7 separate regions of the Homo sapiens genome follow, and all the other regions are linked to region 1. The links are contacts of gene promoters, found by promoter capture Hi-C in blood cells and fetal thymus (Javierre and others, 2016). All regions are on one chromosome and are shown on one strand. Each heading gives the region's core, a stretch centred on a gene start or on the middle of the fragment in contact. The rest is flanking DNA. Distances are from core to core; before and after follow the strand shown.

The links. The method cuts DNA at HindIII sites, captures the fragments that hold promoters and counts their contacts. A CHiCAGO score of 5 or more calls a contact.
Region 2: a contact is called between a fragment that was not itself captured here and the fragment with the promoter of OR1G1 in region 1, in 5 of 17 cell types (M1 macrophages, endothelial precursors, M0 macrophages and 2 more). The highest score is 12.1, in M1 macrophages.
Region 3: a fragment that was not itself captured here is called in contact with the fragment with the promoter of OR1G1 in region 1 in 2 of 17 cell types (M1 macrophages and M2 macrophages); the score reaches 6.6 in M1 macrophages.
Region 4: a contact is called between a fragment that was not itself captured here and the fragment with the promoter of OR1G1 in region 1, in 5 of 17 cell types (M0 macrophages, endothelial precursors, M1 macrophages and 2 more). The highest score is 7.2, in M0 macrophages.
Region 5: a fragment that was not itself captured here is called in contact with the fragment with the promoter of OR1G1 in region 1 in 8 of 17 cell types (M1 macrophages, M0 macrophages, endothelial precursors and 5 more); the score reaches 16.7 in M1 macrophages.
Region 6: a contact is called between a fragment that was not itself captured here and the fragment with the promoter of OR1G1 in region 1, in 9 of 17 cell types (M2 macrophages, M1 macrophages, M0 macrophages and 6 more). The highest score is 16.5, in M2 macrophages.
Region 7: a fragment that was not itself captured here is called in contact with the fragment with the promoter of OR1G1 in region 1 in 3 of 17 cell types (M0 macrophages, M1 macrophages and endothelial precursors); the score reaches 7.6 in M0 macrophages.

Annotation. Positions count from the first base shown.
Region 1 is chr17:3,126,161-3,128,860 of GRCh38, reverse strand. OR1G1 (olfactory receptor family 1 subfamily G member 1) reads left to right here and starts at 1,310. Exons shown (of 1, transcript NM_003555.1): 1 at 1,310-2,251. The coding sequence starts at 1,310. The coding sequence ends at 2,251. The HindIII fragment of the contact is 3,090 bases long and covers 275-2,700 here.
Region 2 is chr17:3,498,686-3,501,385 of GRCh38, reverse strand. It overlaps ASPA (aspartoacylase), which reads right to left. Exons shown (of 6, transcript NM_000049.4): 6 at 1-2,495. The coding sequence ends at 2,298. It also overlaps a transcript of SPATA22 not described here. Among named protein-coding and RNA genes, the nearest start is that of ASPA, 24 kb to the right of the region's middle. The HindIII fragment of the contact is 547 bases long and covers 984-1,530 here.
Region 3 is chr17:3,562,247-3,564,946 of GRCh38, reverse strand. No RefSeq gene overlaps it. Among named protein-coding and RNA genes, the nearest start is that of TRPV3, 5.8 kb to the right of the region's middle. RefSeq lists enhancers at 509-1,307, 1,603-1,652, 1,873-2,072. The HindIII fragment of the contact is 2,141 bases long and covers 321-2,461 here.
Region 4 is chr17:3,582,488-3,585,205 of GRCh38, reverse strand. It overlaps TRPV1 (transient receptor potential cation channel subfamily V member 1), which reads left to right. Exons shown (of 17, transcript NM_080704.4): 10 at 1,776-1,868. Among named protein-coding and RNA genes, the nearest start is that of TRPV1, 26 kb to the left of the region's middle. The HindIII fragment of the contact is 1,527 bases long and covers 558-2,084 here.
Region 5 is chr17:3,518,722-3,521,421 of GRCh38, reverse strand. TRPV3 (transient receptor potential cation channel subfamily V member 3) reads left to right here. Exons shown (of 18, transcript NM_145068.4): 14 at 383-449; 15 at 2,572-2,700. Among named protein-coding and RNA genes, the nearest start is that of TRPV3, 38 kb to the left of the region's middle. The HindIII fragment of the contact is 2,484 bases long and covers 32-2,515 here.
Region 6 is chr17:3,537,450-3,540,149 of GRCh38, reverse strand. The region is part of intron 6 of TRPV3 (transient receptor potential cation channel subfamily V member 3); the gene reads left to right. Among named protein-coding and RNA genes, the nearest start is that of TRPV3, 19 kb to the left of the region's middle. The HindIII fragment of the contact is 3,774 bases long and covers 1-2,700 here.
Region 7 is chr17:3,625,673-3,628,372 of GRCh38, reverse strand. All of the region lies in intron 2 of SHPK (sedoheptulokinase), which reads left to right. Among named protein-coding and RNA genes, the nearest start is that of SHPK, 9.2 kb to the left of the region's middle. The HindIII fragment of the contact is 1,681 bases long and covers 514-2,194 here.

The sequences.
Region 1 (2,700 bases), core at 61-2,560:
ATAGATTCATACTGAGCATCTGTGTTGTACCAGCCTCAAGGCTAATGCTAGATTTCAAAGCTGAGCCAATTAGGCACCATCTCTGCCTACTCCCAGTGATGCTCACAGCAGAATGAGGGACACTCATATAAACAGACACTCAGAATCCAAGGTGACACGTGCTGTGATGGGGGAGGCACTGCATTAGGAAGGTCACGAACCTGAGTTTCTGGTGAGAGGATGAGTTGGGAAAGACTTCCCAGAAGAGGTGACATCTAAGGTGAGACCTGAAGCTTAGCTCGTCTGATAAATGGGATGGGAAAAACTATTTCAGCCTGAGAAAGCCTAAAGGTGAGGGAGTATCTGGGCCTTTAAAATAATTGAAACTATGATTAGTGCATAAAGTGTGGAGTGGAGGAGGGAGTTTCATGAGGAACTGGGGATGTCTGTAATAAATGACGGTAAGATCCAGGACATTCAGCCGTGTTCAGTTTAGAGTTTATCCTGGGAGTAATGAGGAGTGTATGAAGGATTTTTCAAGCAGAAAGACAAGAGTCGAATTTGATTTTTAGCAAGCCTATTCTCTGTGTATTTAGAACAGCAGGTGGCAGGTGGGCATACCTGGGGGCATGGAGATCAACTGCCCAAATCCAAGTGAGAAATCACAGTGCCCTGAATGACATGAGCTGCAGCTGGGACTGATGGTGACCAGTAAACAGAGAGACGTCAGTAAATTGTAGCCATATTGAGAAGGTAAAATTGCCAGGCTTTGGTGGTGGTTGGATGTAGGCAGGGAGGGAGAAACGTGGGTCAATAATGACGCTCAGGTTTCTGGCCAGACCCGCTGTGTAGATAACAGTGATAATGATTTCCATGTTAGCCATGCTTTTCCCAATTCCAAAACCCCTTTCCAGGAGCTGTCTTTTTAATTATTGGTACAATGGGCTCATTTGACCTGTAAAATCTTGGGTTGTATAAATGTCATAGTTTCTACATGAACACTACCAGAGCAAAGCCAGCAAGCCCCTCCAGCCCAGCCCCAAAATACACATATTGGCTTAATGCTTATGGAATAAATTTAAAAGCCTCTCATTGCATTACAAACAAATCTGTGGTTTCTCATAGCACCAAGCACAGGAATTTGCAAATATTTAGTCGAACCCTATGAAATGGCCATTTTTGCAGGTCCCAAAGAGTCAAATAGTGGAGATTTCCTATGATCCAACCTCACACTAGAAGATCAACACTGGAATATTGCATAATTTTCAGAGTTCACAATCCAGGGCTTACCAACGTCACCCAATTAACCCAACTTTCTTCCTACAGACAAATGGAGGGGAAAAATCTGACCAGCATCTCAGAATGTTTCCTCCTGGGGTTCTCTGAGCAGCTGGAGGAGCAGAAGCCCCTCTTTGGGTCCTTCCTGTTCATGTACTTGGTCACGGTGGCAGGCAACCTCCTCATCATTCTAGTCATCATTACTGACACTCAACTCCATACCCCCATGTACTTCTTTCTAGCCAACCTCTCCCTTGCAGATGCCTGCTTTGTGTCCACCACAGTCCCTAAGATGCTGGCAAACATACAGATCCAGAGTCAGGCCATCTCCTACTCAGGGTGTCTACTACAGTTGTATTTTTTCATGTTATTTGTGATGCTGGAGGCATTCCTCTTGGCGGTCATGGCCTATGACTGCTACGTGGCCATATGCCACCCACTTCATTACATTCTGATCATGAGCCCTGGGCTCTGCATCTTCCTCGTGTCTGCATCCTGGATCATGAATGCCCTCCACTCCCTTCTACACACACTTCTGATGAACAGCCTGTCCTTCTGCGCAAACCATGAGATCCCACACTTCTTCTGTGACATCAATCCCCTCCTGAGTCTGTCCTGCACAGACCCCTTCACCAATGAGCTGGTGATCTTCATCACTGGGGGTCTCACAGGACTCATTTGTGTGCTTTGCCTGATTATCTCTTACACGAACGTTTTCTCGACCATCCTGAAGATCCCATCAGCTCAGGGGAAGCGGAAAGCCTTTTCCACCTGCAGCTCTCATCTCTCCGTGGTCTCTCTCTTCTTTGGGACTTCTTTTTGTGTTGATTTCAGTTCTCCCTCAACCCACTCGGCCCAGAAGGACACAGTTGCATCAGTGATGTACACAGTGGTAACTCCAATGTTGAATCCCTTTATCTACAGTTTGAGGAACCAAGAAATAAAGTCTTCCCTGAGAAAGTTAATCTGGGTTCGGAAAATTCATTCCCCTTAGTGGTAGTGACTTGACATCCAATATGGGGGTCTCCATGCACCTGCGTTCACCACAGTAAGCAGTGAAGAATGAAAGATGGAGAGAATCTAGAGACCTCTGTTCCAGTACCTACGATCTGAACCTGAAATATTCATGTCTAAGCTACAGGACTGCATCATAACCCATCATCAGGCCAATGTCACAGGTGAAGTTCTTACAATTATGTTCTAAAACCACAGCCATCCAGATGTATAATATAATGTCATGCCTTATTATATTTACTATAGTTAATAATATTGATGATTTAATAATGTTATTAGTTAATGCTTTTTAAACAACATGGGACAGCTCATGACTGAAATAAGGGAATATCTGGCTGGGCTGTTGTATAGGGCCAAGAATAAAATTCAGGGAAGGACGACCTTCCCCCAGCATCACTGTGATCCTGATCACTCGGATCCCCACCCACA
Region 2 (2,700 bases), core at 8-2,507, 370 kb before region 1:
TTCCTCAGAGTCATCCAAGAGGGTTGGAATTCACTTTTTCCAAACTCCTGTTAATGTTGATATTTTGATCTCCTCCCACGGATCCTGAATGTTCTTAATGGCATCTGGAATGCTGAATCCTTTCCAGAGGTTTTCTGTTTACTTTGCCCAGCTCCATCAGAGGAATCACTATCTATGGCAGCTATAGCCTTATGAAATGATTTTTTTCTTCCTTTCTTTTTTTTCTTTTTTCTCCCCTCCCCCAGCCTGAAATGTATTTCTTAAATAGTTAGATTTGAAAGTCACAATGACGCCTTGATCCATGGGCTTCGGCTGGATGTCGTGGTAGCAGGCGCGAAAACAATGCTAATCTCTTCGCACATCTCCAGCAGAGCTCTTGGGTAACATGGTGTATTGTCAATCAGCAGTAGTATTTTGAAAGGAATTTTTTTTTTTCCCAAGCAGTAGGTCTCAACAGTGGGCTTAAAATATACAGTAAACCATGCCGCAAACAGATGTGCTGCCAGCGAGGCTTTGTTGTTCCATTTATAGAGCTCAGACACAGCAGGTTTAGCATCAGTCTTCAGAGTCCTACGATTTTTGGGCCGGGCGTGGTGGCTCATGCCTGTAATCCCAGCACTTTGGGAGGCCGAGGCAGGCGGATCATGAGGTCAGGAGATCGAGACCATCCTGGCTAGCAGAGTGAAACCCCATCTCTACTAAAAAAATGCAAAAAATTAGCCGGGCGTGGTGGCAGGCACCTGTAATCTCAGCTACTGGGGAGGCTGAGGCAGGAGAATGGCATGAACCTGGGAGGCGGAGCTTGCAGTGAGCCGAGATTGCGCCACTGCACTCCAGCCTGGACGACAGAGCAAGACTCCGTCTCAAAAAAAAAACAAAAAACAAGAGTTTTAGGATTTTTGAAACAGTTAATGAGCTTTGGCTTTAACCCAAAGTCACCAGCTGTGTTAGCTCTTAAGAGAGTCAGGCTGTCCTTTGAAGCTTTGAAGCTAGGCATTCATTTCTCCCCTCTAGCTAGGAAAGTCCTAGATAGCATCTTCTTCCAATAGAAGGCTGTTTCAACTACACTGAAGATCCGTTGTTTAGTGTAGCCATCTTTGTCAATGATTTTAGCTACATCTTCTGGATAACTTGCTACAGCTTCCACATCAGCAACTTGCTGGTTCGCTTTCCACTTGTAGGTTTTAGAGCTGTCTTCTTTCCTTAAACCTTGTGAACCAACCTCTCCCAGCTTCCTGCAGCTTCCTCACCTCTCTCAGCCTTCACAGAATTGAAGAGAGTTAGGGCCTTGCTGTGGGTCATGCTTTGGCTTAATGTGTGGCTGGTTTGATCTTCTATCCAGACCACTAAAACTGTCTCCATATCAGCAATAAGGTTGTTTTGCTTTCTTATCATTTGTGTGTGTGCACTGGAGTAGAATTTTTAATTTTCTTCAAGATCCTTTTCTTTGAATTCACAACTTGGCTAACCAGTGCAAGAGGCCTAGCTTTCAGCCTGTCTCAGCTTTTGACATGCCTTCCTTACTAAGCTTAATTTCTAGAAGTATGACCCTTTCTTTCACTTGAACACACAGAGTCTGCTGTAGACTTATTAATTATTGTGTCTCAAGGAACAGGGAGGCCAGAGGACAGGGAGAGAGACAAGGAAATGGCCGGTCAGTAGAGCAGTTAGAACTCACACAACATTCACTAAGTTCGCAGTCTCACATGGGCACGATTCATGGTGCCCCAAAACACTTAACAACAGTAACATCAAAGGCCACTGATCACAGATCACCATAGCAGATATAATAAATAAATCATAAAAAAGCTTGAAATATTATCAAAGGGTGACACAGAGACAAGGAGTGAGCACATGCTGTTGGAAACATGGCACTGTTAGACTTTCTAGACACAGGGTTGCCAAAAACCTTCAATTTGGAAAAAAAGTACAAGTACAGTATCCGTGAAGTGTAGTAAGGCAAAGCACAATAAAACAAATAACTTTATATATATCTATTTCAATTTTATATTCTGAATACAAAGGCTGTTTATTAAGAATGTTGAGCTACCCAAGTATCATGTATAATAAACTATATAGAAATAGGAAACACTTCTTTGAATAAGCTACATACATAAAATATGATATCTTTAAAGATATATTAATTAATTTAAGAAATGTGCTTAGATGCCTACCGAATAAGGCACTGTGCTAGGAGCTATGTATGCAGTTGAATAAGGCACAACCCTACTCTTAAGGAGCTTACAGACTAGCAGAATTTGTAAGACACCGTGTAAGATGTAAGCTGGAAGTGATTTCTAATGTAAACAGCAGCGAATACTTTTTGCATTGAGCGTTAGTTTAGTTGTCTTTGCAAAAGCTTCTTTCTTTTCGTAATATGCGGCCTCATTCACAAACACGGGGTACACGGTACAGTCTCCGCCCAGTGGGATCGTCTTCCCATCAAGAGTTAAAAACATGGGATCCCCAGGATGCAGTGGTTTCCAGTCTTGATCCTCTCAGGAAACAATCAAAATAAATATATTATATTTGGTTTTTCTCCTCTAAAAATTTATGTCAGACTCTAGACAACTAACAAATTACAGTATTCTGTTGTTTTAAAAGAGATACTTGAGCGAGGCATTGAGATGCAGGCAAGTGATCTGACTGCGCTGACATTGGGTCGTGAATTTTGGCAGTAGTTTTAAGAGTTCCCCTTTG
Region 3 (2,700 bases), core at 142-2,641, 440 kb before region 1:
TCGGCTCACTGCAACCTCCCTGCCTGATTCTCCTGCCTCAGCCTGCCCAGTGCCTGCGATTGCAGGCGCGCGCCGCCACGCCTGACTGGTTTTCGTATTTTTTTGGTGGAGACGGGTTTCGCTGTGTTGGCCGGGCTGGTCTCCAGCTCCTAACCGCGAGTGATCCGCCAGCCTCGGCCTCCCGAGGTGCCGGGATTGCAGACGGTGTCTGGTTCACTCAGTGCTCAATGGTGCCCAGGCTGGAGTGCAGTGGCGTGATCTCGGCTCACTACAACCTCCACCTCCCAGCCGCCTGCCTTGGCCTCCCAAAGTGCAAAGCTTGCAGCCTCTGCCTGGCCGCCCATCGTCTGGGATGTGAGGAGCCCCTCTGCCTGGCTGCCCCGTCTGGAAAGTGAGGACTGTCTCCGCCCGGCCGCCCATCGTCTGAGATGTGGGGAGCGCCTCTGCCCCGCCGCCCCATCTGGGATGTGAGGAGCGCCTCTGCCCGGCCACGACCCCGTCTGGGAGGTGAGGAGCGTCTCTGCCCAGCCGCCCCGTCTGAGAAGTGAGGAGCCCCTCCACCCGGCAGCTGCCCCTACTGGGAAGTGAGGAGCGTCTCCGCCCGGCAGCCACCCCGTCCAGGAAGGAGGTGGGGGTCACCCACCGCCAGGCCAGCCGCCCCGTCCGGGAGGTGAGGGGCGCCTCTGCCTGGCCGCCCCTACTGGGAAGTGAGGAGCCCCTCTGCCCGGCCACCACCCCGTCTGGGAGGTGTGCCCAACAGCTCATTGAGAACGGGCCATGATGACAATGGCGGTTTTGTGGAATAGAAAAGGGGGAAAGGTGGGGAAAAGATTGAGAAATCGGATGGTTGCCGTGTCTGCGTAGAAAGAAGTAGACATGGGAGACTTCATTTTGTTCTGTACTAAGAAAAATTCTTCTGCCTTGGGATCCTGTTGATCTGTGACCTTACCCCCAACCCTGTGCTCTCTGAAACATGTGCTGTGTCCACTCAGGGTTAAATGGATTAAGGGCGGTGCAAGATGTGCTTTGTTAAACAGATGCTTGAAGGCAGCATGCTCGTTAAGAGTCATCACCACTCCCTAATCTCAAGTACCCAGAGACACAAACACTGCGGAAGGCCGCAGGGTCCTCTGCCTAGGAAAACCAGAGACCTTTGTTCACTTGTTTATCTGCTGACCTTCCCTCCACTATCGTCCTATGACCCTGCCAAATCCCCCTCTGTGAGAAACACCCAAGAATGATCAATAAAAAAATAAATTAAAAAAAAAAAGATAAAAAATAAACACATTGTGAAAAAAAAAAAAGAAACAGATACTCTGAAAGAGAGATCTGTTCCAGACTGGGCAGGTTGTGTTAGTATCTGCGGAGTGTAGAATGAGTTGTTCAGTTGTGGAATTATTGGATGTTGGTTCATGAAAGGATGAACTTTGGCTGAGGCTGAGGCTTGGGCCCTACCAGGAGAGGTGTTTTGGGAGAAAATACTGGGATCCCTCCTCCCTGTTCTCTAGCATCATGTCTGCCTCCACATAGGAGGCGCCACGGAGGAGCCCCAGTTGCCTGCATGTGACTATGGCAAGTGAGCCTGGAGCCTGGAGGAGGGAGGCCGACAGCCGGGATGTGGGGAGTGTTTATGAAGGTGCTCCATGTGCATCTCCCTTTAAGTCTCCTAACAGCTCGTGAAGAAGCTATTATTAGTTCCCTTTTATAGATGAGAAAATCAAGGTTCCAACAGTGAGTAAGGTTGCACAGCCAGTAAACACGTTGCCTAGGTTTGACCCCAGGCAGTCTGACTCCAAAGCCTGGCTCTTAACTGCTGTGTCAGGCTGCCTGGCAGAGAATGTGCTGGGGCATGCCAGCCTATCCTGGGCCAGAGGGAGGTGGGAGGGCTTCTCGCTTCCTGCTGTGGGCCTGGGGCTCCATGCTTTACCTGTAGGCCTTTCTTAGAAAATGTGTGGGTGTCAGACAGCTGCAAACTTCTGCAAATTGGATCAGCTTTTTGTTTTGTTTTGTTTTTTGAGACAGAGTCTTGCTCTGTCACCCAGGCTGGAGTGCAGTGGCATGATCTCAGCTCACTGCAACCTCTGCCTTCTGGGTTCAAGGGATTCCCCTGCCTCAGCCTCTTTAGTAGCTGGATGACAGGTGCCTGCCACCACGCCTGGCTAATTTTTGTAGTTTTAGTAGAAATGGGGTTTCACCATGTTGGCGGGGCTGGTCTTGAACTCCTGACCTCAAGTGATCCAGCTGCCTTGGTTTCCCAAAGTACTGGGATTACAGGTGTGAGCCACCGTGCCCAGCCTGGATCAGCTTTCAAATTTACTCAGAGCTGGAAGGGATCCTGTGGTTGTACTTTTGCAAAACTAATGATAGAAATTTTTTGTTATTAGATTGGAAACCTGAGATTGTTTAAGGAAGGATATACCTGCAATTCATATGTCTTTCTTTTTTAAAAAATTAATAAGCTTTATTTTAATTTTATTTTTTTGAGACAGGGTCTTGCTCTCTTGCCCAGGTGGGAGCACAGTGGTGTGGTCATGGCTCAATGCAGCCTCAAACTCTTGAGCTCGAGCGATCCTCCTGCCTTAGCCTCCTGAGTAGCTGGGTCTACAAGCGTGAGCCACCACGCCTGGCAATTTTTTTTTCCCCGTGCAGAGATGTGGTCTTGCTATGTTGCTCAGGCTGGTCTTGAACTCCTGGCCTCAA
Region 4 (2,718 bases), core at 72-2,571, 460 kb before region 1:
GCACTCCAGGCTGGTCAACAAGAGTGAAACTCTGTCTCAAAAAAAAAAAAAGAAAAATCACGCAGGAATTTGGGCTCGGGACAGGGCTCACCCCTGGCCTGGGGGTCCCCAGGGATGTGGGCTGGTGTCTAAGCCCAGAGCCCACCATCATCCTGCTTGCCTGCCCTCTTTCATTCACTCACTTGCTCATTATTCATTCCCTGGATTTAGACTTTTGAGCAGCTCTGTGCCAGGCCCTGGGCCATCCATCAAATCAGCCTAAGACCAGCCTTTTTCCTCTGCCAAGAGCCAAGACTTCATCAAACTTCTGGACTTAGTCCTTCGTGTCTGATACCCAGGACACTTAATTTGCTGCTTTTGTTTCCAGGGCACTTTACAAGTTTACTTACTTACTTAATTTTTGTTTTTTTGAGATGGAGTCTCGCTCTATCACCCAGGCTGGAGTGCAGTGGCGCAATCTCTGCTCACTGCAACCTCCACCTCCCGGGTTCAAGTGACTCTTCTGCCTCGGCCTCCCGAATAGCTGGGACTACAGGCACCCACCAACATGCCAAGCTTATTTTTATATTTTTAGTAGAGATGGGATTTCACCGTATTGGCCAGGCTAGTCTTGAACTCCTGACCTCAAGTGATCGCCTGCCTCGGCCTCCCAAAGTGCTTGGATTACAGGTGTGAGCCACCGTGCCCGGCTGCACATTTACTTTAAAAACTCAACTTCATAATTGCATGAAACCCGATTTCTGTCCACCTATTAAGGCCACATAATGACTTCCTTTTTTTTTTATTTTATTTTTTTTTTTTTTGAGACAGAGTCTCTCTCTGTTTTCCAGGCTGGAGTGCAGTGGTGTGATCTCAGCTCACTGCAAGCTCTGCCTCCTGGGTTCACGCCATTCTCCTGCCTCAGCCTCCCTCTTTTTTTTTGTTTTTTGTTTTTTGTTTTTTGAGACAGAGTCTCGCTCTGTTGCCCAGGCTGGAGTGCAGTGGCGCCACCTTGGCTCACCGCAACCTCTGGCTCCGGGGTTCAAGTGATTCTTCTGTCTCCCAAGTAGCTGGGATTACAGCCATGAGCTACCACGCCTGGCTAATTTTGTATTTTTAGTAGAGATGGGGTTTCTCCATGTTGGTCAGGCTGGTCTCGAACTCTCGACCTCAGGTGATCCGCCCGCCTCGGCCTCCCAAAGTGCTGGGATTACAGGCGTGAGCCACTGCACCCGGCCAGTGACTTCTTTTTAAGAGAAAAATGTGCTGGTAAGGCAAGCTGATGAACTAGTGCTTAGGAAATGTGGATGGTGACCCACTCCAGGAAATGGCCACTGAAATACAAGGGTGACACCCACAAGTGTGTGTGGCACAGTCTCTCCCTCCATGGTCAGTGGGAGTCCCTGACACTCGTGGGAGACTGGCCATGGGCTGGGGTGGCAGCGGGATGTGTATGGCGTGGGGTCCATGAGAGTGCTTCCACCTCTCCATCACCCTGCTGTCCATCACTCTGCTCCCAGCCAGGAGGAGCTCTGGGCCTGCCGGGACATTGCTTGGGAGGCGGCACAGCATTGTAAGATGCTCCGCTTGGCACCTGCAGGCTGCCACTTTGGGGAATCAGGCCCACAGAGGGGCCTCCTTGCGGGCGCTCCCCTAATAACACACTGTCTTTGTGTGTCCTTCCCCTGATGGAGGCTGTGCCTCCTGGGCAGGGACTATGGCTTCATGGACCTGGTCCATGTTTGTTGAATGAACGAATGAGTAAATGGAGTTACCAACTTCTCTGCATCTCACAGCCTCCCTTTAAGATGGAAAAAACTGGAGACTATTTCCGAGTTACTGGAGAGATCCTGTCTGTGTTAGGAGGAGTCTACTTCTTTTTCCGAGGGGTAAGCGTTCCTTCCCACATTGTGAGTTTCCATTATCACCAAAACAAAAAGCCAAGAAGATCCCTCAGCGCTCACTCACTTTTTAATTCATCAGACACATCATAGCCCTACTTGGGGAGCTGAGAGACGCAGAGGTGAAGATGAGAGCCCTTCAGTCAGTCACCGCGGGGCGGGAGGGTGCTCAGGGCGTCTCCACAGGCCCAAGGCAGGCAAGCTTGAAAGTAGACACTCCAGCCACTCCACGGAACGGAGTATTTGATTACAGGGGCAGAGTGGAGGCCTCTTAAGTGATAGGATCATGACTGGTAGTTTTTTAATTAAACCAATCTGTTAAAGCTCTGAGCAGTGAAGGAAATCTCCTTGCATACTGGAATCTTTTTTTTTTTTTTTTGAGGTGGAGTTTCGCTTTGTCATCTAGGCTGGAGGCTAGTGGCACGATCTCGGCTCACTGCAACCTCCGCCTCTTGGGTTCAAAAAATTCTCCTGAGTAGCTGGGATTACAGGCGCCTGCCACCACAGCCGGCTAATTTTTTTGTATTTTTAGTAGAGGTGGGGTTTCACCATGTTGGCCAGGCTGGTCTCGAACTCCTGACCTCAGGTGATCCACCTGCCTCAGCCTCCCAAAGTGCTGGGATTACAGGCGTGAGCCACCACACCAGCAAGGAATTGTTTTATTTTTAACCTGAAACTCAAACATGTGCAATCCTTGGCCATTTTTTTTTTTTTTAATGCAGGAGTAATCTTTTCTTTGAATGTGGGACTCACTGTTTCAGATTTTACATCACCTTTCTTGCAAAAACCATATTTATATAATCTAAGATTTCTAGTTTCAGCTTCTTTAAAGAAGAGT
Region 5 (2,700 bases), core at 24-2,523, 390 kb before region 1:
ATGGCTGTGTTTAACAACCAGCTCACAAGCTTCATGAGAATTTAACGATCAGCTCTTGCGAGCTCTTCTGAGCTGGCTCCAGCATGCCACTGCCCCCAGCAAGTGTGAGGATTCCAGTGTGAGACCCTATGGTGAAAGGTACAGGGTGAATCACAGGGAGAAGAGAACCTGGGGCTGGAGCAGAAACAGAAGGCTTCCTGGAGGAGGCAGGATCCAGTGTTGAGCCTTGGAGCATCAGGAGGATTTGGCTGGGGGAAGGGAGAGTGGCCCAAGTGAAGAGACAGTTAGGGTGGGGGGTGGGAGAGGGTGGGAAGCAGGAAGATCAGGGTGCCGTGAATATGTGCTTGCACCTTACACTTGAATTATGTTTATTTCCTTATAGGTCATTTTGCATGATGTTCTGAAGTTCTTGTTTGTATATATCGTGTTTTTGCTTGGATTTGGAGTAGGTAATTGATTTATAAATAATAGTAACTCCCACATTTATAAACACTTTATACAGATGTCAAAATGGCAAAGTGCATGGCGGCCTTGGCAACAATTAGACCAACTACCAGTGGGGCACTTGCCATGCTTGGCATTTTCCAAGCATTACCTTTATATATATACATATATATTTTATTATACTTTAAGTTCTAGGGTACATGTGCACAACATGCAGGTTTGTTACATATGTATACATGTGCCATGTTGGTATGCTGCACCCATTAACTCGTCATTTACATTAGGTATATCTCCTAATCAAGCATTACCTTTTTACTTCTCTCAACAACTTGATCAAGTGGGAATCATCACCCCGATCATAAGGTAACTGAGGCTTAGAGACTCCAGGATTCAAACCAGGCCAGCCACTCATAATCCAACTTCACCATGTGGTATATACCTCTGGCTTTCCCATTCATTGCTTACGTGGCCCTCACGACCTAAGATAGGTTCTGCAAGTGTTTTCAGCCCCATTTTAACAGATGCGGAAACTAAAGTCCACAGAAACTCAACTGATGGTCTTTGCAAAGTAGGAGCAAACTAATACCCTGAGGTGATTTCCTTTGGATTTCACATCACGTTACTCTCACAGTTTGCTTTAGATACAACTGTGAGAGCCTCTCTGGTCTGCTGGGACCAGGAAGGAGCCCCCTCTTAAAATCTCTCCATTTACAACAGAGGGAACAGCACGATCTGGTTGTATTTCTAACCTCTGCATAGAGAGATATCATTTTCCCCCACGTACCAGTTGCTTTTTTTTCTTTTCTTCAGTGACCATTGACATTTGAAATTAAGTAGCTGTTTCCATCTGTCTGGTACCTTTTCTGGGTCACAATTTGCTTATTTATTTGCTCCTTCACCTGCTTGTTTATTCATCCATCTATTTACTCTCTCATTTAATTTGCTCATCCACCTGTCTATCCGTCCATCCATCCATCCATCCATCCATCCATCCATCCATCCAATCATTCATCCATCGATCCATCCATTGATCTATCCATCTATCCATCCATCCATCCATCCATCCATCCATCTAATCATCCATCCAATCATCCATCCATCCATCCATCCATCCATCCATCCATCCAGTCATCCATCCATTCATCCATTTAATCATCCATCCATCGATCAATCGGTCCATCCATCCAGCTATCCATCCATCCATCCATCCATCTAATCATTCATCCATCAATCCATCCATCCATCCATCCATCCATCCATCCATCCATCCATCTATCCATCCATCCAATCATCCATCCATCCATCGATCAATCAGTCCATCCATCCATCTAATCATCCATCTAATCATCCATCCATCCATCCATCCATCCATCCAGTCATCCATCCATTCATCCATTTAATCATCCATCCATCCATCGATCAATTGGTCCATCCATCCATCTATCCATCCATCCATCCATCCATCTAATCACCCATCCATCCATCCATCCATCCAATCATCTATCCATCCATCCATCTAATCATCTATCCATCCATCCATCCATCCATCCATCCAATCATCCATCCATCCATCCATCCATCCCTCCATCTAATCATCCATCCCTCCATCCATCCCTCCATATCCATCCATCCATCCATCCATCCATCCATCCAACCATTCAGCAGTGAACCTCTACTGTGGTGTGTTGGAAAGAAGGGAAGTGTGAGCCTGGTCTTGCTCACAGGGAACTCAAAACAGAGCATTAGGAGGAGACTCAGGATCTTACAGCCTTGAGGGAGGTGACCCAGGCTAGAGGAAGTCAGGAGCTCAAAGACTAGCTGGGGAGCCAGGGACACACACATGGATTATAATTAGTGGCTCTGCAAGGCTGCAAGTGATCAAGGGCAGACTGCGGGGTAAAGGAAGGAGAGAAGACTCTGGGCTTTGTTAGGTGGAAGGGCTTTCTGCAGGAGGCCAGGCCAGAGAAGCCAGCCTGATGAGGCTTTGAGAGGACCTGAAACTGGAGATGGGATTTAATGGCCAGAGAGAAGGAGGCAGCAGGCTTGTCATGTAGGCAAATACACGCAAGCTTGTAGAGTAATTACCAGGCAGAGAGCTGAGGAGAGCACCCTGTTATGTTCCCTTAGCCTTGGCCTCGCTGATCGAGAAGTGTCCCAAAGACAACAAGGACTGCAGCTCCTACGGCAGCTTCAGCGACGCAGTGCTGGAACTCTTCAAGCTCACCATAGGCCTGGGTGACCTGAACATCCAGCAGA
Region 6 (2,700 bases), core at 41-2,540, 410 kb before region 1:
TTTTCATAGCATTTTTTTGTATCTAAAATAACCTTATTTAGAGCAATGACTTTGTTTATTTATTTATTTATTTATTTATTTATTTATTTTTTGAGATGGAGTTCCGCTGTGTCACCAGGCTGGAGTGCAGTGGCACAACCTCTGCCTCCCGGGTTCAGGTGATTCTCCTGCCTCAGCATCCCAAGTAGCTGGGACTACAGGCAACTGCCTCACCTCTCTGAGCCTCAGTTTCCCCACTGGGCAAGGGCGAATATTTCCTCCCTATGCTGCTAAGAGGAACCAATCACAACTTTATTCATATCATTTTAAAGCATTTTATCAGAGGCCTTCAGAGTTTTACTTTTTTAAGCAATTCTTCAATTAAGACATTTTTATTATAAAAATTTTAAACATGAAGTTAAGATATTAGAATAATAAACCTCTACACATCCATCATCAGATTCAATATAACAGTTTCTTTTTATTATTTTACTTTATTTTATTTTATTATTGTTTTTGAGACAGGTTCTCACTCTGTTGGGCAGGCTGGAGTGCAGTGGCGCGACCACGACTCGCTGCAGCCTTGACCTCCCTGGGCTCAGGTAATTTTCCCACCTCAGCCTCCCGAGTAGCTGGGACTATAGATGCGTGCCACCCCGCCCAGCTAATTTTTCTATTTGTTGCAGGGATAGGGTTTCACCATGTTGCCCAGGCTGGTCTGTAACTCCGGGGCTCAAGCAATCCTCCCGCCTCTGCCTCTCAATGATGGGATTATAGGCGTGAGCCACCGCACCCAGCCTAACAACATCCACGTCACATGAATAGAGTTTCATTGTAAAGCAGCCCAGCATTTTACATACTTTTTTTTTTTTTAAGTCCTTTACCCATATACTTTGTGGAGTTTTCTAGGCCTTTGACATTTGTGTGTGTATATGTGCACACAGAAAAAGTTTTATTTATTTAACATAAAATATTATCATACTGTCTGTATTCTACAAGTTGGTTTTTTTGATTAACTATTAACCATATGTCTTGGAGCACTTCTTATGCCAAAATATGAAAGTCTAGCTTCTTTTCACCAGATTCGTCTGCAATTGCGGCTGCACCTTGGCTAATTTCACCACTCCCCCACTGACAGACAGTCAGGTGTTTCCAGCTGTGTTGTGACAATGTCACAGTGCACGATCTTGTCTATGACCCTGTGCACAGGTGCACATATGTTTCAGAAAATATTTTGAATTGGAATATCTGGGTTCAACCGCATGCATATTTAAAGTTATAATAGTGGCCAGGCGCAGTGGCTCATGCCTGTAATCCCAGCACTTTGGGAGGCCAAGGCAGGTGGATCACTTGAGGTCAGGAGTTCCAGACCAGCCTAGCCAACATGGTGAAAACCCATCTCTACTAAAAATACAAAAACTAGTAGGGCGTGGTGGGGCACGCTTGTAATCCCAGCTACTTGGGAGGCTGGGGCAGGAGGATCACTTGAACCTGGGAGGCGGAGGTTGCAGTGAGCCGAGATCGCGCCACTGCACTCCAGCCTGGGCAACAGAGGGAGACTCCATCTCAAAAAAAAAAATTTTTTTTTAAATAAATAAAATAAAGTTATAATAGTTATTGCCAAATTTGTCTCTAAAAGATACTCATTTACTCTCTCCCCACAACGGTGTACAGAAATACTCATTCTCCTACTTATCACTAACACTGCAAATTATCCTTTTTTTTTTTTTTTTGTTCTTTTCCAGTCTGGTGGGTGAAAAGGGTTAACTCTTTAGGTTCTAATTTTCATTTTCCTGACCACCAGTGATTCCAAACATCTTTCACTTTGTTTATTCACTGTGTGTATTTTCTCCTCTGTGAGGTGCTTGTTTATAATCTTTTCTCAGTTTTCTTTTAGACTGTTTGTCTTTCTATTGATTCATAGGCGCTTGTAATATATTATAGACTTTTAAAAACACAATGCCTTTCTATTTTTTTTTTGAGACGGGGTCTTGCTCTATTGCCCAGGCTGGAGTGCAGTGGCATGCTCACTGCAAGCTCCACCTCCCGGGTTCACACCATTCTCCTGCCTCAGCCTCCCGAGTAGCTGGGACTACAGGCACTCACCATCACGCCCGCCTAATTTTTTGTATTTTTAGTAGAGACAGAGTTTCACCAGGTTAGCCAGGATGGTCTCGATCTCCTGACCTCGTGATCTGCCCGCCTCAGCCTCCCAAAGTGCTGGGATTACAGGTGTGAGCCACCGTGCCTGGCATGCCTTTTTTTTTTTTTTTTTTTTAAAAAGACAGAGTCTTGCTCTCTAGCCCAGGCTGGAGTACAGTGGCGCGATCTCTGCCTCCTGAGTTCAAGTGATTCTCCTGCTTCAACCTCCTGAGTAGCTGGGACTACAGGTGCCCGCCACCACACTTGGCTAATTTTTTTGTATTTTCAGTAGAGATGGGGTTTCTCCATGTGGGCCAGGCTGGTCTCGAACTCCTGACCTCAAGTGATCCACCCGCCTCGGCTTCCCAAAGTGCTGGGATTACAGGTGTGAGCTACCGCGCCCGGCCCTAAAACACATTGCCTTTTTATATATCTCAAATATTTTCCCCAGCCTATCACTTGTCTTTAACTTTCATTAGGATGCATTCGGAAATACAGAAATCTCCGAGGTAGGGGGATTGCTTGAGCCCAGGAATTCAAGACCAGCCTGGGCAACACAGCAAGATCCTGTCTCTACAA
Region 7 (2,700 bases), core at 105-2,604, 500 kb before region 1:
CCAACCTGGGCGACAGAACAAGACTTCGTCTCAAAAAAAAAAAAAAGAAATTATGAAAGATTTAATTTAGACAAACAAAAATAGGGAGAACAGTACTGTGAACAGCATATACCCATCACTCAGCTTCAACAAAATCAACATTTTACTACAGATCAACATTTTAAGCAGAAGATGGACGGCTACTTTGGGGGGCTGTAGTTATGAGGATTTCAATATTGGATTCATCCCTCTCTACATGGAGAGTCGGCAATTTAGAGTGCCCTGAAGTGCACGGTGACCTGCCTGTCAGTGGGACTGGCATTTGGTGATGCACCGTTTAATCACTCCCAGGATGGGGCTGGGCAATCGTAGGAGCTGATGCAGGCTCTTCCTCCTCCCCTTCCTCCCTCCTGTCCGGCTATCATCAGACCCGCCGGGGCCGTGGGAGCTGCTTGGCACCGAGCAGTGGCGGGAGCAGAAGGCGATTAGGGTGTCAAGGCTAACCTCTCAGAGGGAGTCTAGGTTGTAAAAGCTTTTAAAACTCCTTAATTTTGCATTAATGAGAATAAATGTCCTTTTAATACTAAAACCCTTCCCAAAGAGGACAGCAGAGAGCTGATGATTGTGATCCGGTCACATGCCTTCCTTTCTGCCTGTCTCCTGGGCTCTCTAACAACCACACAAACCATCAGCCACATCGTTGGAAAGAGCTGCTTAATATTTTATTGAGCCAGCCCACATGCCTTCTGGGATTGTTTTCTGTTTCTGGGAAGGAGGAAAGCCACAGTGTGGTGATGGTGATACCTGCTTAGTGAAGTCAAGTGAAATCACATTTGGGATCCAGTCTTGTCGATTTTAATGGCAGCCTTAATTCACTTTGGTTTTCCTACCTACAACCTATAAAACGCTTTGCTAGGCCCTGGGGGAGAGATAGAAATGAAGGAATGCAGCCTCTACCTTCCAAAACACAGTCAACACAGATGGGCAGGAGTAACTTGAGCAGAGAGCTAAGTGCTTCAGTGAGGGCACCCGGAGCGAGCTGGAGGGGAGGAGACGGAGTGATTAGTGTCTTCTGAAAGGCCTGTGGTTACGCCTGTTTCCAAACTCCATTTTCAGGCTCAGTAAACGCAGAAGAGCAACCAGGATCATCAAAGAAAGCTAAAAGGCGAGCAGCAGACAGGGAGAAAATATCTGGTAGTGAATAGTGGACAAAGGACAGGTCAGCACGTGTAAAGAACCAGTAACTAAGAGAGAACAAGCAGCTCTGTGGAAAAACGGGTGAAGGATACCAATAGGTTACTCCTGGAAGAGGAAATACCAATGGCTGATAAACATCTGGAAAGATGTTCAGCATTGTTAGTCATTAGAGCTGTGCGGATGAAAACAACAAAGCATCATTTTCCACCCATTGGATGGTAAGAAATCAAAATGTTCCGTAATGTCGAGAGTTGGCAAAGGGAGTGGAAAACTGGTATTTTTTTTATTTTTTATTTTTTTTGAGATGGAGTCTTGCTCTTGTCACCCAGGCTGGAGTACAATGGAGCGATCTGGGCTCACTGCAACCTCTGCCTCCCAGATTCAAGTGATTCTCCTGCCTAAATTTCCCCTCCCAAGTAACTGTTACTACAGGCACCCGCCACCATGCCTGGCTATTTTTTTTTTTTTTTTTTTTGAGATGGAGTCTTGCTGTGTTGCCCAAGCTGGAGTGCAGTGGCGCAATCTCTGCTCACTGCAAGCTCTGCCTCCCAGGTTCACGCCATTCTCCTGCCTCAGCCTCCAGAGTAGCTGGGACTACAGGTACCCGCCATCACGCCCGGCTAATTTTTTTTTCGGTATTTTTAGCAGAGAAGGGGTTTCACCATGTTGGCCAGGCTGGCCTTGAACTCCTGACCTCAAGTGATCCACCCGCCTCATACTCCCAAAGTGCTGGGATTACAGGTGTGAGCCACTGCGCCCGATGAGCTAAGAGGTATTGAGGATACAAACAGAAGCACTAGCATCTAAATCATAAGAGACCAGAAAGGGAAAAATAAAAATGGAGAGGAGGAAATCTTTGAAGAAATAATGGAGAAAAATTTCCTATAATTGACAACATAAGATAGAACACCCCAGCCTGAAAGGGCCCATAGAATGTCAAAGAGGAGATAAAGACAACCCCCAGCTAGATATATTCTAGTGAACTTTTAAGGATTTCAAAGACAGAATTCCAAAAGCTTACAGAGCAAAAGATCAGATCCCATATGAAAGAATAAGGATCAGATTGACATTAGATTTTTTTCAACAGCAGCATTCTGTGTGAAAAGACAATGGAGTAGCATTTTTTTGTTTGTTTTGTTTTTCTGAGATGGAGCCTCACTCTGTTGCCCAGGCTGGAGTGCAGTGGTGCGATCTCAGCTCACTGCAACCTCCGCCTACTGGGTTCAAGCGATTCTCCTGCCTCAGCCTCCGGAGTAGCTGGGATTACAGGCACCCGCTACCACACCTGGCTAATTTTTGTATTTTTTGTAGAGATGGGGTTTCGCCATGTTGTCCAGGCTGGTCTCGAACTCCTCACCTCAGGTGATCCGCCCACCTTGGCCTCCCGAAGTGCTGGGATTATAGGCGTGAGCCACCGTGCCTGACCAGGAGTAGTATTTTGATGACCTATTGCGGCACAACAAACTACCTCCAACCTAGTGACTGAAAGCAACAAGCATTTATCATCTGTCATGATTTTTTGGG